Regions from separate parts of the Homo sapiens genome. Here region 2 is linked to region 1. The links are contacts of gene promoters, found by promoter capture Hi-C in human tissues and cell types (Jung and others, 2019). All regions are on one chromosome and are shown on one strand. Each heading gives the region's core, a stretch centred on a gene start or on the middle of the fragment in contact. The rest is flanking DNA. Distances are from core to core; before and after follow the strand shown.

Evidence for each region. Contacts are between HindIII fragments. The study calls those that stand out against the background at their distance.
Region 2: a fragment that was not itself captured here is called in contact with the fragment with the promoter of GUCA2B in region 1 in 1 of the 25 tissues and cell types used here (bladder).

What each region holds. Positions count from the first base shown.
Region 1 is chr1:42,150,093-42,157,220 of GRCh38, reverse strand. It overlaps GUCA2B (guanylate cyclase activator 2B), which reads right to left and starts at 3,811. Exons shown (of 3, transcript NM_007102.3): 1 at 3,681-3,811; 2 at 2,355-2,541; 3 at 1,401-1,686. The coding sequence starts at 3,770. The coding sequence ends at 1,625. The HindIII fragment of the contact is 15,047 bases long and covers 1-7,128 here.
Region 2 is chr1:41,912,271-41,919,450 of GRCh38, reverse strand. HIVEP3 (HIVEP zinc finger 3) reads left to right here and starts at 529. Exons shown (of 9, transcript NM_024503.5): 1 at 529-1,038. RefSeq lists silencers at 1,198-1,247, 1,299-1,593. The HindIII fragment of the contact is 8,466 bases long and covers 1,316-7,180 here.

The sequences.
Region 1 (7,128 bases), core at 2,562-5,061:
TGTCCTGGGAAGTGCCCTGTCTTGTCATTTTGCTTGGTCTATGATCTGGGCTTAGTTTTTCTCTCTGTACCTGACTCTTCTTAGACTGGGTGGGGTGATAATAACAGTATCTGCTTCATCGGTCTGTTGTGAGGACTCCATGAGTTACCATGAGTGCCAAGTGAGTAGGATAGTGCCTGGGATAGAGTGAATGCTCAATAAACATTGGCTGTTATAATTATAATAATAATAATTATTTTTATTTTTTTTTCATTTTTTTTCTGAGACAGGGTCTTGTTCTTGTCACCCAGGATGGAGTGCAGTGCTGCAATCTCGGCTCACTGCAACATCCGCCTCCTGGGCTCAAGTGATTCTCTTGCCTCAGCCTCCTGAGTAGCTGCGATTACACGTCTGGCTAATTTTTGTATTTAGTAAAGACGGGGTTTCGCCATGTTGGCCAGGCTGGTCTTAAACTCCCGACCTCAGTGATCCTCCCACCTTGACCTCCCAAAGTGCTGGGGTTACAGGTGTGAGTCACCACACCCAGCCTATAATTATTATTATTTTTAAATACAAGGTCTTGCTCTGTTGCCAAGGCTGGAGTTCAGTGGTGTGATCACAGCTCACTATGGCCTCAACCTCCCAGGTTCAAGTGATCCTCCTGTCTCAGCCTCCTGTGTAGCTGGAACTACAGGCAAGTGCCAATACTTCTGGCTAACTTTCAATTTTTTCATAGAGATGGGATCTCCCTACGTTGCCCGGGTTTGTCTCAAACTCATGGCCTCAAGCAATCCTCCCATCATGGCCTCCTAAAGTACTGGAATTACAGGTGTGAGCCACTGTGCCTGGCGTTTGTTGGCTATTAATTATTATTAATATTCCTCAGGCTGCCAGGATGGAGAGAGGGTGGGAAGGCCTCCCAGCTGGAGCTGGCCAGATGGTCCCTGTGGGGCTGGGAAAAGTGGGAGCTTGGGAATGAGGATGAAGGCCAAGGGCCGATCTTCTCACGCAGACCCCAGGCAGAGTCGGCCCTGATTACAGCTTGGGAGGACATGCTGCTTGAATCTTCCCTCCACTCTCTCCTTCTGTCTCACCTCCTCCCTGCCCCAACCCCACTCCTGCGTCAGGAGCACAGTTGCTCTTGCTCCGAAGCTGGGGAGGCCTTGAGTTCAGCCTGGGGGTCGCCAGGTCTGGCTGGCTCTGGGGCTTCTGAGCTCTGTGATCCTGGATGCCTCATTCCTGCTCCGAGCCTCAGCTCCCTCATATTCGGGATGGGGTTCAATCAACTCCCCGGGCCTTGAAAACTTCAGGAAAATTCCTGCCTGGTATTTTTAGTCCCGTCTTTCTCCTCAATCCACACTTCTTCTCCAGAAGCTCCTCCCATGGCTCCTGGGGATGAACAAAGGACACGTGGACTCGTGTGTTGTAGAATCTTTATTCAGGAGCTGGGCTGCCTCAGGGGCCTCCCCCTCCAACTCTATGTCCGATTGCTTTGTACCAGATCCAGCTGCTCAGGCCCTGGAAGGGTGGTGATGACCATGGTGGCCAGGGACCCATCTTGAGCATGGACGGGGATGGAAGCCTGCCAGGGTGGTGGGCTGAAGGGCGAGGTGTCCCTGGTGGGCTCAGGGTACCCAGGGCTATCTCAGAGGCAGCCGGTACACGCAACGTTCACACACAGCTCACAGTCGTCGTTAGCGATGGTCCCTGGGCAGGGAGAGAACTGGTCAGTTGACCTGAACCTGGGCCCTCTGTGGCCAGGCAGCAGAAGAGGTCTGCTTGGGAATGGGCGGCATCTTCCACAGACTGGGAGCAGGAACGTCTAGAGGTGGAGTGAGGGCTTGGGTTCAAGTCCCAGATGCTCTCCTTCCTAGCGGCCACTGGGCAAGTCACTCACACTCCCTGTGCCTGAGATTTCTTGTTTGCTAAATGGACAGGGTCACTGTGAGGAGATAATGCAGGACCGACAAGTCCCGGCACACAGTAGGTGCTCAGTAAGTGCTAGCTAGTTGCTACATTCTCGTGCCTGGCTCTGCACGATCCCTCAGGTTTCAGCTTGGCTGACACCTCCTCTTGGAAGCCTTTCACACCCCTGTCCCATCGCAGATGTCAGCCAGCTCTCCTCTCTGCTCCACGCAGCCATTGTCTGTTGATGGGTCTGTGCCTGGCGTGGACTAAGGGGACGAAGCAGGTTCCAGGCATGCCTGACTCACAGTGCCCAAACCGGGGAGTCCTGGGAGCCAGTGGGACAGGGCCTGAGTTACTTGAATCTCCCCATCCTCAGCCGCTGGGTGCTTAAGAGAAACAACCCAGGTGGAGGAGCCTGGGCGTGGGAGGAGACAGAGCGAGGTTCTGCAGGGAGCGGGGGCACTTACTCAGGGTCTTGAAGATGCTGGAAGCCTCCTGCGAGGCGCAGACAGGCTGAAGGTCCTGAGGCAGAGCAGGGTGGTGGCACACGGCGGGCAGGAGGCTCTGGGCCTGCAGGCGGGGGCTGGGTGCCCACTGTGCCTCCAGGTCACTCAGCTTCTTCATGGATTCCAGCTGGACCCGGAAGCCTTGGTACTACAGACAGGGGAGAGGAGATAGGAGCAGGTCAAGACCTGGTCCAGGGGCAGGCACTGCCATGACACCCAGGGTTGCTCAAACCCTGCAGATCCTCCAGAGCCTTCCCCGTCTCTATGGGAAGTCCAGGGCCACACTGGAAAGAGCCGCTGCGGTGAGAGGTGTGAGGAAGAAGCAGCGGGGCTGTGGAGCACAGTGGTTCGAGGCTTTAGAGACAGACAAGCCCTGGTTCAAATCCCACCTCTGCCCATGACCGGCTGCCTGTCTGTTCCCCACTCAGCCTCAGTTCCCTCATCTGACATCTCCCGTGGGGGCCTGGTACCAGGGCACAATCACTAACTGAGTACGCCTGCCTGAGCTCACATGGCAGAGTGATGGCAGCCCCAAGTAGCTGGTCTCTGAGGCCAGGGCTGTTGGGGAGGCCAAGTCTCCTGCACCCCTCTCTGGGACCCACTTTGTTCTTCCCAAGGAGACCATGCCCAGAGTCAGGGATGTGACACCCAGGGCCACAGACGTCTCTGCTATGCTGGGCGAGGCCAGCAGCATCCCCTGTGACGTGGCAGACAGGCCCTGCTGTGACGACTACTGCCACTCTCCCATGCCCCCTGGAAGGGCACTGGAACCCCCATAGTCTTCTATCTGGTCTTTGCACATGCTGTGCCCCTTGGCCTGGAACAGTTTCCCCATCATCTGTGTCTGGCAACCTCCTGTTCATCTTGCAATGCCAGCTCAAGGGTTACTTCTCAGGAAAATTTTTCTGGAGCCTGTCCTCCTCCACCTACATGTGGGTGAATATACGGAACTGTGGGAGCATAACAGGGTGTCTCCTTCCCTTTCTGGCCTCCTCCCATGCAAGGAGGAGCCTTCTGTTCCACACCCTGACCTCTGTGACCAGCACGGGCCTTTGAGGGGAGCAGCGCTGAATCAGTTTGGTGTTGTCATTGCCATCATCACTGCCATCAACATCTGGCTGCCCCCACCCACCAGCTGCCTTGGTCTCTGGGCTGTGATGGGTGTTGGGCTGAGCCCCGGGCCCCGTGCTCCCCCGGTGCCCCTCTGAATTCCCAGTACACCCTCTCCAGCCTAGCCTCCCACCATGGGGCCCTTCAGGCAAAGGGAACGCTGGCCAAGGGACTCACCTGGATGTAGACTGACTGTGTGCTCTGCAGCAGCAGCAGGAGGACCACGGCCACTCCTGGCAGGAGCCCTGATGCAGCCCTGCAGCCCATCGCGCTCCCTGGGTTCCCCCTGCCGCTGTCCACCGTCTCCCATCTGTGTCCCTGCCTAGCACCTCCTTATAGGTCAGGCTCAGGAGTCCTGGTCACTCATTAACTGGCCAGCTGGGGTGGGGTTGACAGCTAGCTGGCTCTCTGACAAGCCGGGGCTGGTTCCTAGGAAGGGGGTTGGGGGCGAGGAGGGCAGGAGCCCAGAGTCTATGGGAACACAGTGCTTGAACACCGAGTGCCTGCCATGTGCCGGGCTCTCCATGGGGGCCTTGGAGCACACCATCATTCACTCCTCAAGACACCTGTGTGGGTGTGATGACGGGGAGGCCATTTTACAGACAGGAAAAGTGAGGCTCAGGAGGGAGGGTGGCTTTCCCCAGGTCACGGAGCTAGTTAATGTCAGAGAAGGGGCTCCAGCCAGGTGTCCTTGGCCCAGGTCAGCCCATGGTCCTTTCTCTGGGGGAAGGATACAGACAGAGAGGCTGGTCCAGGGCAAAGTGGGCAGACACTGCTGATTTCAGGGTTCTCAAGACCCCACTCCCCCAAGACCCACATCTCTCTCACTCCCTCTCCTCAGTGCTATTTAACGACTATCTTTCAGACCAGTCCTGGCCCCACGTTTTGAACCTGCCTCTGCTTGCCATCTCCCACCTGTGCCTGGGTGCTTCAGGCCATGTTTGACCCATCTCACCTGTCTGTGCTTTCAGAAGCCAATAGCCTAATCCAGCATGGAGGAAAAGGCAGTAGTGTTGGAGGCAGATTGACCCGCATTCAAATCCTAGTCCTGCTGCAGCTGTGTGATTTAGGATACGTCACATCAATTCTAATGGAATCTTAGTTTTCTCTTCCATCAAATGGGCATGATACAACCCCTCTCGTAAGGTTGCTGTGAGGGCCCCGGCCCACCTGAGGTTGCCCTTATCTCCTGGGTAATGCATCCATAGCAGCCCCTGAATCTTACAGTTGCCTTCTAGGCAATGCATAACCTACTGCCCCAGTGGTTGAAGGTTGGGTCAGAGAGAAGAGGGCAAAGTCTCTAAGGGTGATATCACCACTGCCATACCAGGCAGCTGTAAACAGTGCGTGTGCCAGGGCTCAGCTCTGCCAGGCACAGACTCTGGCATGTGGCAGGCTCCCCTGACATTGAGCCTGAACGTTGGATTGAAGCCCTGATAGCTCACCTTGGCATTTAAGATGCCACTCCCAAAAGTGGCTAAAATCTGATGTCATCGTGCTTCCCCATACCAACCCTATTTGCACAGGTCTAATCCCATCTCATGTCTTTGCCTACTCATTCCACCTGCCTGAAATGCCATCTTCCTTTTTCTTATCTCAGACTGAAATGAAGAAGAAGCTCAAGTGAACTTTGGAATTTCTTATGTATTGCTTTGAATCCAGACTTCAGCCTTTGCTCTTTAGAGTCTATGGAAATGAAGGGAATCTTACATGCCCTCTAATCTGTAAAATGAAAACAACCATCTGGGAATAATAGCTCTCATTTCTTGAATACTGTGCACAAAGCTATGTTATAGTCGTAATCCCATTGAATCCTAAAGGATAGGCATAATGGTTATTCCCATTTTACAGATGAGTAACCTGAGGCCCAATGAAGCACCATGTTTGTTGTCACTGTGGGAGCAAGAGGGGTAAGCAGATTTTCTACCTGGAATTCTTGCCTTTGCTCAGCCTGTGGTGTTATAGAAAAAGGAACTGAGGACTTAGAGATGAGGAGAGCTGGGTTCAAACCCGAATGACAGCACTTACCAGCTGTGTGATCTTTGGTACATTACTTAGCTTCTCTGAGCCTCCGCTTCTTCATCAGTAAAGTAGAGAAAATAGTAATAATAATTTTTAAAAAGACCTCATAGTGGTTGTTGTAAGGAAAAACTGAACGATACCTGTCCCAGGAGAGCCTGTGACTCTCCCTAAAACCAACCATTTCCCCAGCATGTGCCTGGCTTATGGGGGATGCGTCATGAAGGGGGGTTTCCCTGCCTCTCCTTATGTAACTCCCATGACAAGCCCCATCTCTCAATCTATAGCAGGACCAGTGCTGCTTTCTGACATGCACAGGCTGAACTCAATGCTGGGCTGGAATGTCCATACTTGGGTCTGATCAACTGTAGGACCTTGGACAAGCGACGACCTCTGTGATCTCAGTTTCTCATTTGTAAAAATAATGTGACGTCTCCAGTGTTTGAGGTTGTTATGAGGCTGCTTGATACCTAAATCTATGGTCTTTCCACGAGAGGAAGCTCATCTCCCTTGACCCCCACATCAATGGGACATAGCGGTAGGGTCTGGGGGCCCCTTGGCCATGGTGTCTGTCCTTTCCTCGCCCTGTGGCTCCTCCAGCCAGGGCCCGTCATGTGTCAGTCTTCCCTGGGAACCAGGTATGACTTCCCTATCTGCCTAACATGACTCAAGTTTATTTGTCAAACCCACCTCCTCCTAATCTCTTTCTAAATGACCCACCATCCATCACAACCAACTTGGCCACAGACGCAAATCCTTGACGCTACCCCTGGCCAGCCCATGTGCATTGACGTGGTATTATCAGGGCACTTCCTTCTTTAGGGATGTGGGAAGTGACTGTCACAAGAGCCTGGAGTTCACCCTGTGTGGAAGCCTCAATCACAGATGTGGGGTGGGTGACAGTTTGCCCATGTGCATTTGGGCAGCTCCGCTCTCTACCCTGGCCTCGCTGCTCAGTGCCCACTGCTATGGTGCCCAGAGCCCAGGGCTCTCCCTGCCCCAAACTGCTCAGTTCCCCACAGCATTTGTCATAGCTGACCACTCCATCTTTCTTGGAGTAAAGTGCTTTCACCATTTGACTCCTGGGACTCTCCACATTTTCTGCCAATCTCTCTGGCTCCATATTCTCAGCTTCCTTCCTTGGTTTTTCCTTCTCTTCCTGACCTCTAGGTGTTAGAGTGCCCAGGGGGCACCAAGGCTGTCTTTGGACGTCTTTCTTCCTGTCTGTAATCACCCCCTTGGCGATTTATCCCATCACAAGGGCTTTAATACCATCAACACTCTGTTTACTCCATAGCCTGGCCTTTCTTCTCAATCCCAAACTCATTTATCTACCGGCCTCCTCAGTTCCTCTCATACCGGTTGATAGTACTACCATTCACCCAGTTGTCAAGTCAAAAATCTGGGAGTCATCCTTGATGTCTCTTTTTTATTTGCCAAATTAAATTCACTAGCAAATCCAGTTGGCTCTACCTTCAAGATATTTCTGGATTCCACCCGTTTCTCATCATCTCCACTGCTATGATCAAGGTTCAAGCTATCATCACAGGTTGAATGGATTATTGCAATAGCCTTATATTAGGCAGGGTTCTCCAGATAAGCAGAA
Region 2 (7,180 bases), core at 4,299-6,798, 240 kb after region 1:
GACATGGACCCTGAGACTGCAGAGCAAGGCAGGGCAGGGCAAGGAGTGCCCGTGTTGAGCTCTCAGGTGCAGAGACCCCACTCCCTTCAGGCACTGTTGAGGCTCCCCGGCCCCTGATCTGCAGCCAGAGGCTGGTGAGGTGTGACACGCTTGCTGACAAGAGTGCCCTGTCTCGTCTGACCCGTGAACATGGGTGTTCAGAAGTGAAGGATCATAGTGTTTACATAACGTGCCAATTAGTACTGAGAAGCTCATCAGTGCAATAAATATTTATGACTTGCATTTGCATTTTTTCTCTCCACGTATATATATATAATATGTGTGCATATATATGTGCATATATATGCACATATATTATACATATATGTTGTTTTTTAAAAAGCACCAATAAATGAAATCCTTATCACTGTGTGCAAGCCTACTGTGCCTTTAGGCATGGGACTGGCTTCCTGCGCTGGGAGTGACAGCTATTCCGAAGTGATAATTGGTGTACTGTGTCTTTAAAAGGTTAAACCCCCTTTCAAAAAAGGTCTGGACTCCTAGTGGAAAAGACAAGCGAGGCATGGGTTGGCTCTGGATTCAGAAAACAGCTGCTGATTAGATTCTGTGTCTGCAGGCTGAATTTATTCCGTGTTTTTCAGCAGCACGAATTCAAGAGGGATGCTTCTGTTTGGGTTTCTGATCGTGATTTATATTTATTCAGAGGAATAACAGAGGGTGGATCTGTTCCCGGCGCGAGCATGCTCACAACCAGCCGACTCTCCCATTATCCAGCTGCCTAGTTTGGTGCTTCAATGTACATGGCTATTCCGTGTGCATATGTGTGTATACAAACACGCATGCATGCCTGGATGGACATACGTATGCACAGGTTATTTTTTAAGGACAATTCTTTCAATAAGGTCTTTACCCCTTACTTGAAACAGGTGTTCATGAAAAAAATGCACAAAATCCTGCCTGGCCGGAATAATTCATGAAGAAGGGGCTGGATCCGTGGGTCAGAGAACACAGGACCAGTTTGCCATCCCAAGGCCGAAGGTAGGGGACTCTGGGTTTTTATTCGGCGGATGGATTCCTTGCGCTGTATTTTACCTTGTGATTGTGTTTTTGCCTGAGGCCGCACCGCGAAGCAGAATAGCGAGCTGCGATTCCATTTTGTGTATGCCTTTCTTAGGCAAGGTGTCCGGCTGCCGAGACGCAGGGGCCGGCCGGGTGGGCTGCGCGTGGCGGCCAGTGCCCCCGGTGGGCTGAGCGCGCTGCTCGGCCTGGTGCTGGGGAGCGGCGCGAGCCTCAAGTGACCCCCGCGCGTCAATCACAGGCGGCGGCGGCGGCGGCGGCGGCGGGGCTGTAACCCTATGCGCGCCGTGCGCTCCAGCGCTGCTTGCAGCAGGCTCTGCTGGGCTCTGCACCCGCGCACTGGCGGCCGGCTCCATAGGAGCCTCGGCTGGGGGGCTTAGGCATCGCGTTCCGTGGCACCGGCGTTTTCTTGTGCTGCCTTGGCTGCTGCTCCGGATTGTTTAGGCGGACTGCAGTAGCCTGCTTGGTTGAGAGTGAGATTCGTATGATGCTGGCTGCTGAGACAGAGGGGATAGCTTTCTTTTTCCCCCTTAATCCTAGCCCCCTGAAAATATTCCTAAAGCAAAATCATTTCCCAACCCCCAACCTGACCCAACCAAACCCAAACCAAACTCCTATTCTATAGGGGATTCTTGCCTCCCTGCTAGCAGAGAGAGTGTCCCCTCCAAGTTATGCCCCACATTTTACTATCTTTTAAATGGAAACACTGATGGTGCCGAATGGTCCCTAATGATATTGTCCAGGCTGCTGAGGACTCCTGAGTGTGGCAGTGGTGCAGAGGAACTTGGAGGCTCGGCATTGGTTTCCTTTAACGTAGCTGGTTTGGTTTCTGTTGCAGGTCAGGAATATTTCTGTGGCTAGGCCCTTCCTTGAACTTCGGGGGCAGTGGTTGCAGGAAGAGGGTCTGCAGATCTGGTCGCTGGGTGAGCAGCACCCTGGCCCTCTTTCTGGTATACGCTGACGTTTCTGGTAGCCCTTGGCATTGTAACCACAGCAGCCAGGTGCCCACTGGCTACCTGGAGTGCTTCGGTTTTGTTAACTCTGGTGTGCATTTTGGGTGTTACGGGGGGAGGGAAGAGGAAAGAGGGAGAATGAGGTGTTTGCTGAACTGATCTGCATGGCAGTGTTCTCCAGCCCATGTTTGTGTGATTATGTAATGATCAGACGTGTGCCCAAACAGCTCCCCACCATCTCCTGGCTCTCCCCCAGACTGAAGAAGTTGGGTGCTACAGTTGTTTAAGACGTCTTTATGTAATTATGTGTATGCTGGGGGCAGGGAGAGAGTGGGGGCAAGGAGGAATAATTCTAGCAACTTAAATGTGAAGAATACAGGTCAGTGATCGTGTGTCCCTCTGAGGACAGTGTGGTATTAGCTCTGGGTCAGTGTTGATCTGAAGACCCTCCTGTGTCTCTTTCAGCCAGTAATTGCTTATCTGAACTTTCATTTGGTAATTTCACCCCTCTTGCACCCTGGAGACAGTTGGACCCAGGAGAAGGACCCCTGCAGGGCCTCCAGTTTCCCAATTCCAGGCAGAAAATGAATCCTGAAGCCAAGGTAATAGGCCAGGTCCCAGCTGTTCTTCATGGTCCTGCTGAGCAGCCAGTGTAGGGAGGAGTTCCTGTCCACTAGGGTGTCACTTGTGCTCTGGGGTTGGGCTATACTGTGGGGCTGAAGAATAGACCTCAGATGCCGTCTGAGCTGTTTGACATATGCTCTTTAAAGTTGTGATGGCTTGCAGAGGCTGGAGGCCCTTTACATAGTTGCATTTAAAGATTGTGGGAGTTTTTTGCAAGGAAGGTGGACAGCTGTCCAACTAAGACACCTGCAGGCAGGAGGAGAGGGTGGTGTGACACTTAGCTCTCTGCTTCCTCTCCACTCCATCTAGTTAAGGCACCCACAGGATACAGAATTGTTAACAGGGGCCCTCCTGTCACACCCCTGAGCGCCTCAGCCTGGGGCTGTTGGGCAGATTTGTTAATTTGATGGCAAAGTCTGGCCCCTTAAGGCTAAGATTGTTTTTTTGCCCTCAACACCCCAGTGGGTTTGCTTTGAGGGCCAACTACTACTGTGAACTCTGTGGCAGTGGATCAAGATGTGCTCAACTGGCACTATTGTTGAGCTGTCTCCGCCCATTGTGTTTAGTGGCAGCCACCCTCCTTGGAGTGGAGAAGTGTGTGCTGCCTTTGGGTCCTTGCCAAGTGAGCTGTTGAGACATTTAGTGTGTGAAAGGTACAGGCAAGAAGAAGATGCATTTAGTCTGAAGTCCTGGCAGGTTCTAGGACATGATTTGATGAAAGATAACATTAAGAAAGCTGTGTGACAACTGGATAGCATTTAACTTGTCTCTCACTCCCTACTCTGTGAATTCCCTAATGTCTTTAAGGCTCTTTTTTGCCCTCCATCCTGCCCATCAAGGAGTCCCTGACATGCTGTTCTCCATCCTGTTTCCTGTGGAGTCAAAGTGTATTTACAAATCTGCAGATGCACTAGGCGGGCAGGGCTGGAAAACACTGGCTGTATCAACAGGCAGCACTAGCATTCTGGGTCAGACTTGGCCAAAGCCCGTGACCAATTTTCTTCCTTATCTGTAAAGTAGGTGTAACCATCATAACCTTACCAAGACCACTGAACTATCTTGAGAAGAAAAATGAGATACGTTTAGTAACATGCTATGTAGTTGATAGGTATTAGGATAATACCACAACAATCTGGAACTCACATTTACATAATTTCACTTATCCAGTTGGGACCTAGATGGCAAATCAAGAGAAAGGTCATAAGTCCATGAGCTACAGTTTATGAATTTTGATCATTGGAGGAAATTTTATACCCTCTTTCAGGCCTCTGCATTTACTTCAAGTTTTAAGAGGCTTGGTTATTAGTTTGTCAAATGCACCTAGCAAATTGGAAGCAACTGATACTGTACTGTGCAAGGATTATTAAAGCTCTTTTATCAAGTATCAGTAAGAAGTAAGAGTAAAAAACAGAAAAACTAAAAAAAAATTTAAAAGGCACAAGAATTCAAGGCATGGAATTCTAAAGCTGATATGAGCATTTAATGTAAGCAATTCAGTGAAATTTTATGTATTTTGATGGATCTTTGGTACTCTGTTTTATAACATAGTAACTGATGCTCACAATGACCCACATGTATCCATAGAAGTTAAAATTATATTTTGTTCATCCAATTTAAAAAGACAGAGTTCTGAAGTATCCCCAAAAGATTTTTTTTTTTTGCATGATTCTTAGAGAAAAAACTGCAACTATCCATGATAATGGCACCTGTGAGGTTTCTGGATAGCCGGTGGCTTACTGGTCAAAATTATATTACAACTATAAAGCCCTGCTGTTGAAATTGAGAACTTTATGATCTTTTGTCAAAATTTATCAGGGAACTACTATGCTACTGTTATTATTAGTGGTTATGTTCTAACATTTAATACTAAAGAAAATATTCATGAACCTCAACCTGTCTTGTTATGATCAGGAAACACACTTAGAGTTGTTCCAACTTGATGACTTTAATTCTGGAGTTGGAAGAGACCTGGTGATGGAAAAGATGGAGCAGGAGAGGTAGACCCTACTGCTATCTGTTTCTTACATCTGTGTAGCAAATGTAGACTTACCACTACCCGGATGTTGTTCAAGCTGTCATGGCCACACCCTTATGGTAAGCAATGGTGTTTTTTCAGTTCAGACATCGTGCTGAAAACTGGAAGGTGGCTGAGATACACGAGCAGTGCCAAACTTGGCCTGACCCTCTGACAATGTGTTCAGTTAAAATTTGCTCCAAAACAAAGGCAAGAGGAAAAACAAAAGTAGAGGAAAATAAATGTAGACCCTTTTAAAATAGTATTTTAAAAATTCAATACATATGTGGAAAACGTGAGGACCTAACTAAAAGTCATGGAAGAGTATTTCTCAGTTTCTAGATGTACATACATTCATTGTTTTGGTAACTTACTTGAAAAAATTCTTTAACTAAAAGAAACTGTCAGTAACAGGTTATTGAATATAATCACAAATACTCAGAACTCTCCAAAGGTTCCCTGTATCTAATTGTAATATGATGGAGAAAAGGTATTCCCTGAAGTCCCAGAGGGCTTGGAAGGCAGAGGAGGTGAGGCATGGTGGTGGGAAGTGACTGAACCACACTATCCAGAGGACTGCCCTGTTGGGAGGTTTCACAGTTGGAAATATGTGCTTGGGAGGCAGGACAACAATGGAAGTGGTGAGTACATGACTGATGGGTCTCCCCTCCTCATTACTAAGTGTTTTTGAAATGCCAGGTGCAGCTGGAATTCTTGTGGATAAAGGGGGAAGCTTTATATCTAAATATGAAGTAGGGGTGATCTGAAAATGCCTTTCAGATTTGGGGAGCAAAGCCAGGGAGAAGTATAGGGAAGCTAGTCTCAGAAATCTTGAGATCTCTGAGCATCGGTGGACCCTTGAATTGGGGTTTAGGATCAACTTTTTAAACATGTGTTATGTATGAATAACTGAGATCCAAAGAAAAGCTAATAAACAAATAGTAGAAAGATATGGAAAAAATAAAAGCAGTGTTATAAACACACGATATGCTCCTCCGAATCTCAGTCACCAATTTTAGTCTATTGAGTCTTTCATTGGACTTCCAGGCTTAGCATTAGATGTTGAAACTATCTTAAGATCAGAGGAGCTGGATACAGTGGCTCATGCCTGTAATGCCAGCTGCTCAGGAGGCTGACACAGGAGGATCACTTGAGCCCAGGAGTTTGAGATCAGCCTGGGCGACATAGCAAGACCCTGTCTTAAAAAAAATAAAAATAAAATTATGGACATGGTGGCTCACACCTGTAATTCTAACTACTCAGGAGACAGAGGCGGGAGGATCTCTTGAGTCCAGGAGTTTGAGCCTGCCATGGGCTATGATCACATCACTGTACTCCAGCCTGGACAATAGAGCAAATATGTCTCTTAAAAACAAAAAGATCAGAGATGCCCTGATAAACATGAATTGATTGGATTTAAATAGAAGAAGAATTTTGAAATCCTCCTCCATCAAAATTCTACACAGTAGACGCTTGACATTTTCAGTGGATACATCTCAAGCCCTTGGCAAATCCCCAAGTTTGCAAATGCAGAAATATTTGCATAGGCTCTTGACTTCCTCCTGAATCAGGTTCCATTCCAGAGTGAAGAGGTTCCTATGACTATTCACAGGCTACCAATTATTTGCCTTTTCAATTTGCACTCAAGGAAATTAAGTTTCTTTCACCTCCAGAGAGTTTCTGTTTCCCTGGTGGCATCTTGGGATGGGGTTACTGGGTCTTTGAGAAGACTCCCTCTCTAGCTAAGTGACTTGTTCTTTGCTGTGGCTTTGCAACATACAGTTCACATTTGTGCTCCAGAGAAAAGACAAATTGCCATGTGGTGTGGCTATTAGGGGTTGTTCACAAATAACTGAAAAAGTGTTGAATCTACAAGCATCTGCTGGGTTTGCTAAAAAATTGCACATGTGTGCAGCCCCTCAAACTCCCCCCAATTCCCTGGCCCTCAGTATACACTTAATACAGTGTTAGAAACTTCCCCTGACTGTCAGCAAATCTTGATGAGGGGAATTGGGCATAGCACAGCTGAAGCGTCTGGTAAAGAACTTAAAATGAGAGCATCACCATTGAAATCTTAGCAAGAGAAGCAGAATGTAGTCATTTGCTCCATGCCCTCATTTTGAAGATTTCAAAGTTTGAGAAAAAAACCCACTATGATTATGATTGTATCAAATAAATGAGCCAGAGCATAATGTGCCCTGGAGGTTGGGCCTTGCTGTACCTCACTGGAAAGATTCTCACAAGAATGTTTTGGAGTGGTCTGGGGAGAAGCTCTTAGAATTTTAAGTGGGTTTAAGAGCACACCAATTACAATTGAGGAGAGCATCTTTGCCCAGCAACTAGAAAAGATATGGCAGGAACTGCAGCAATTTGATATGAGAGTTTCTTATTAAATTTGTGTTGTGACCATCTTTTGAAATAACTTTAATGAAATAGCCCCTAGATGCAAACGAATGCTTACAAACTGTGTAGAAAGGTCTAAAGAATAACATTATGACTAACACTTATGTAC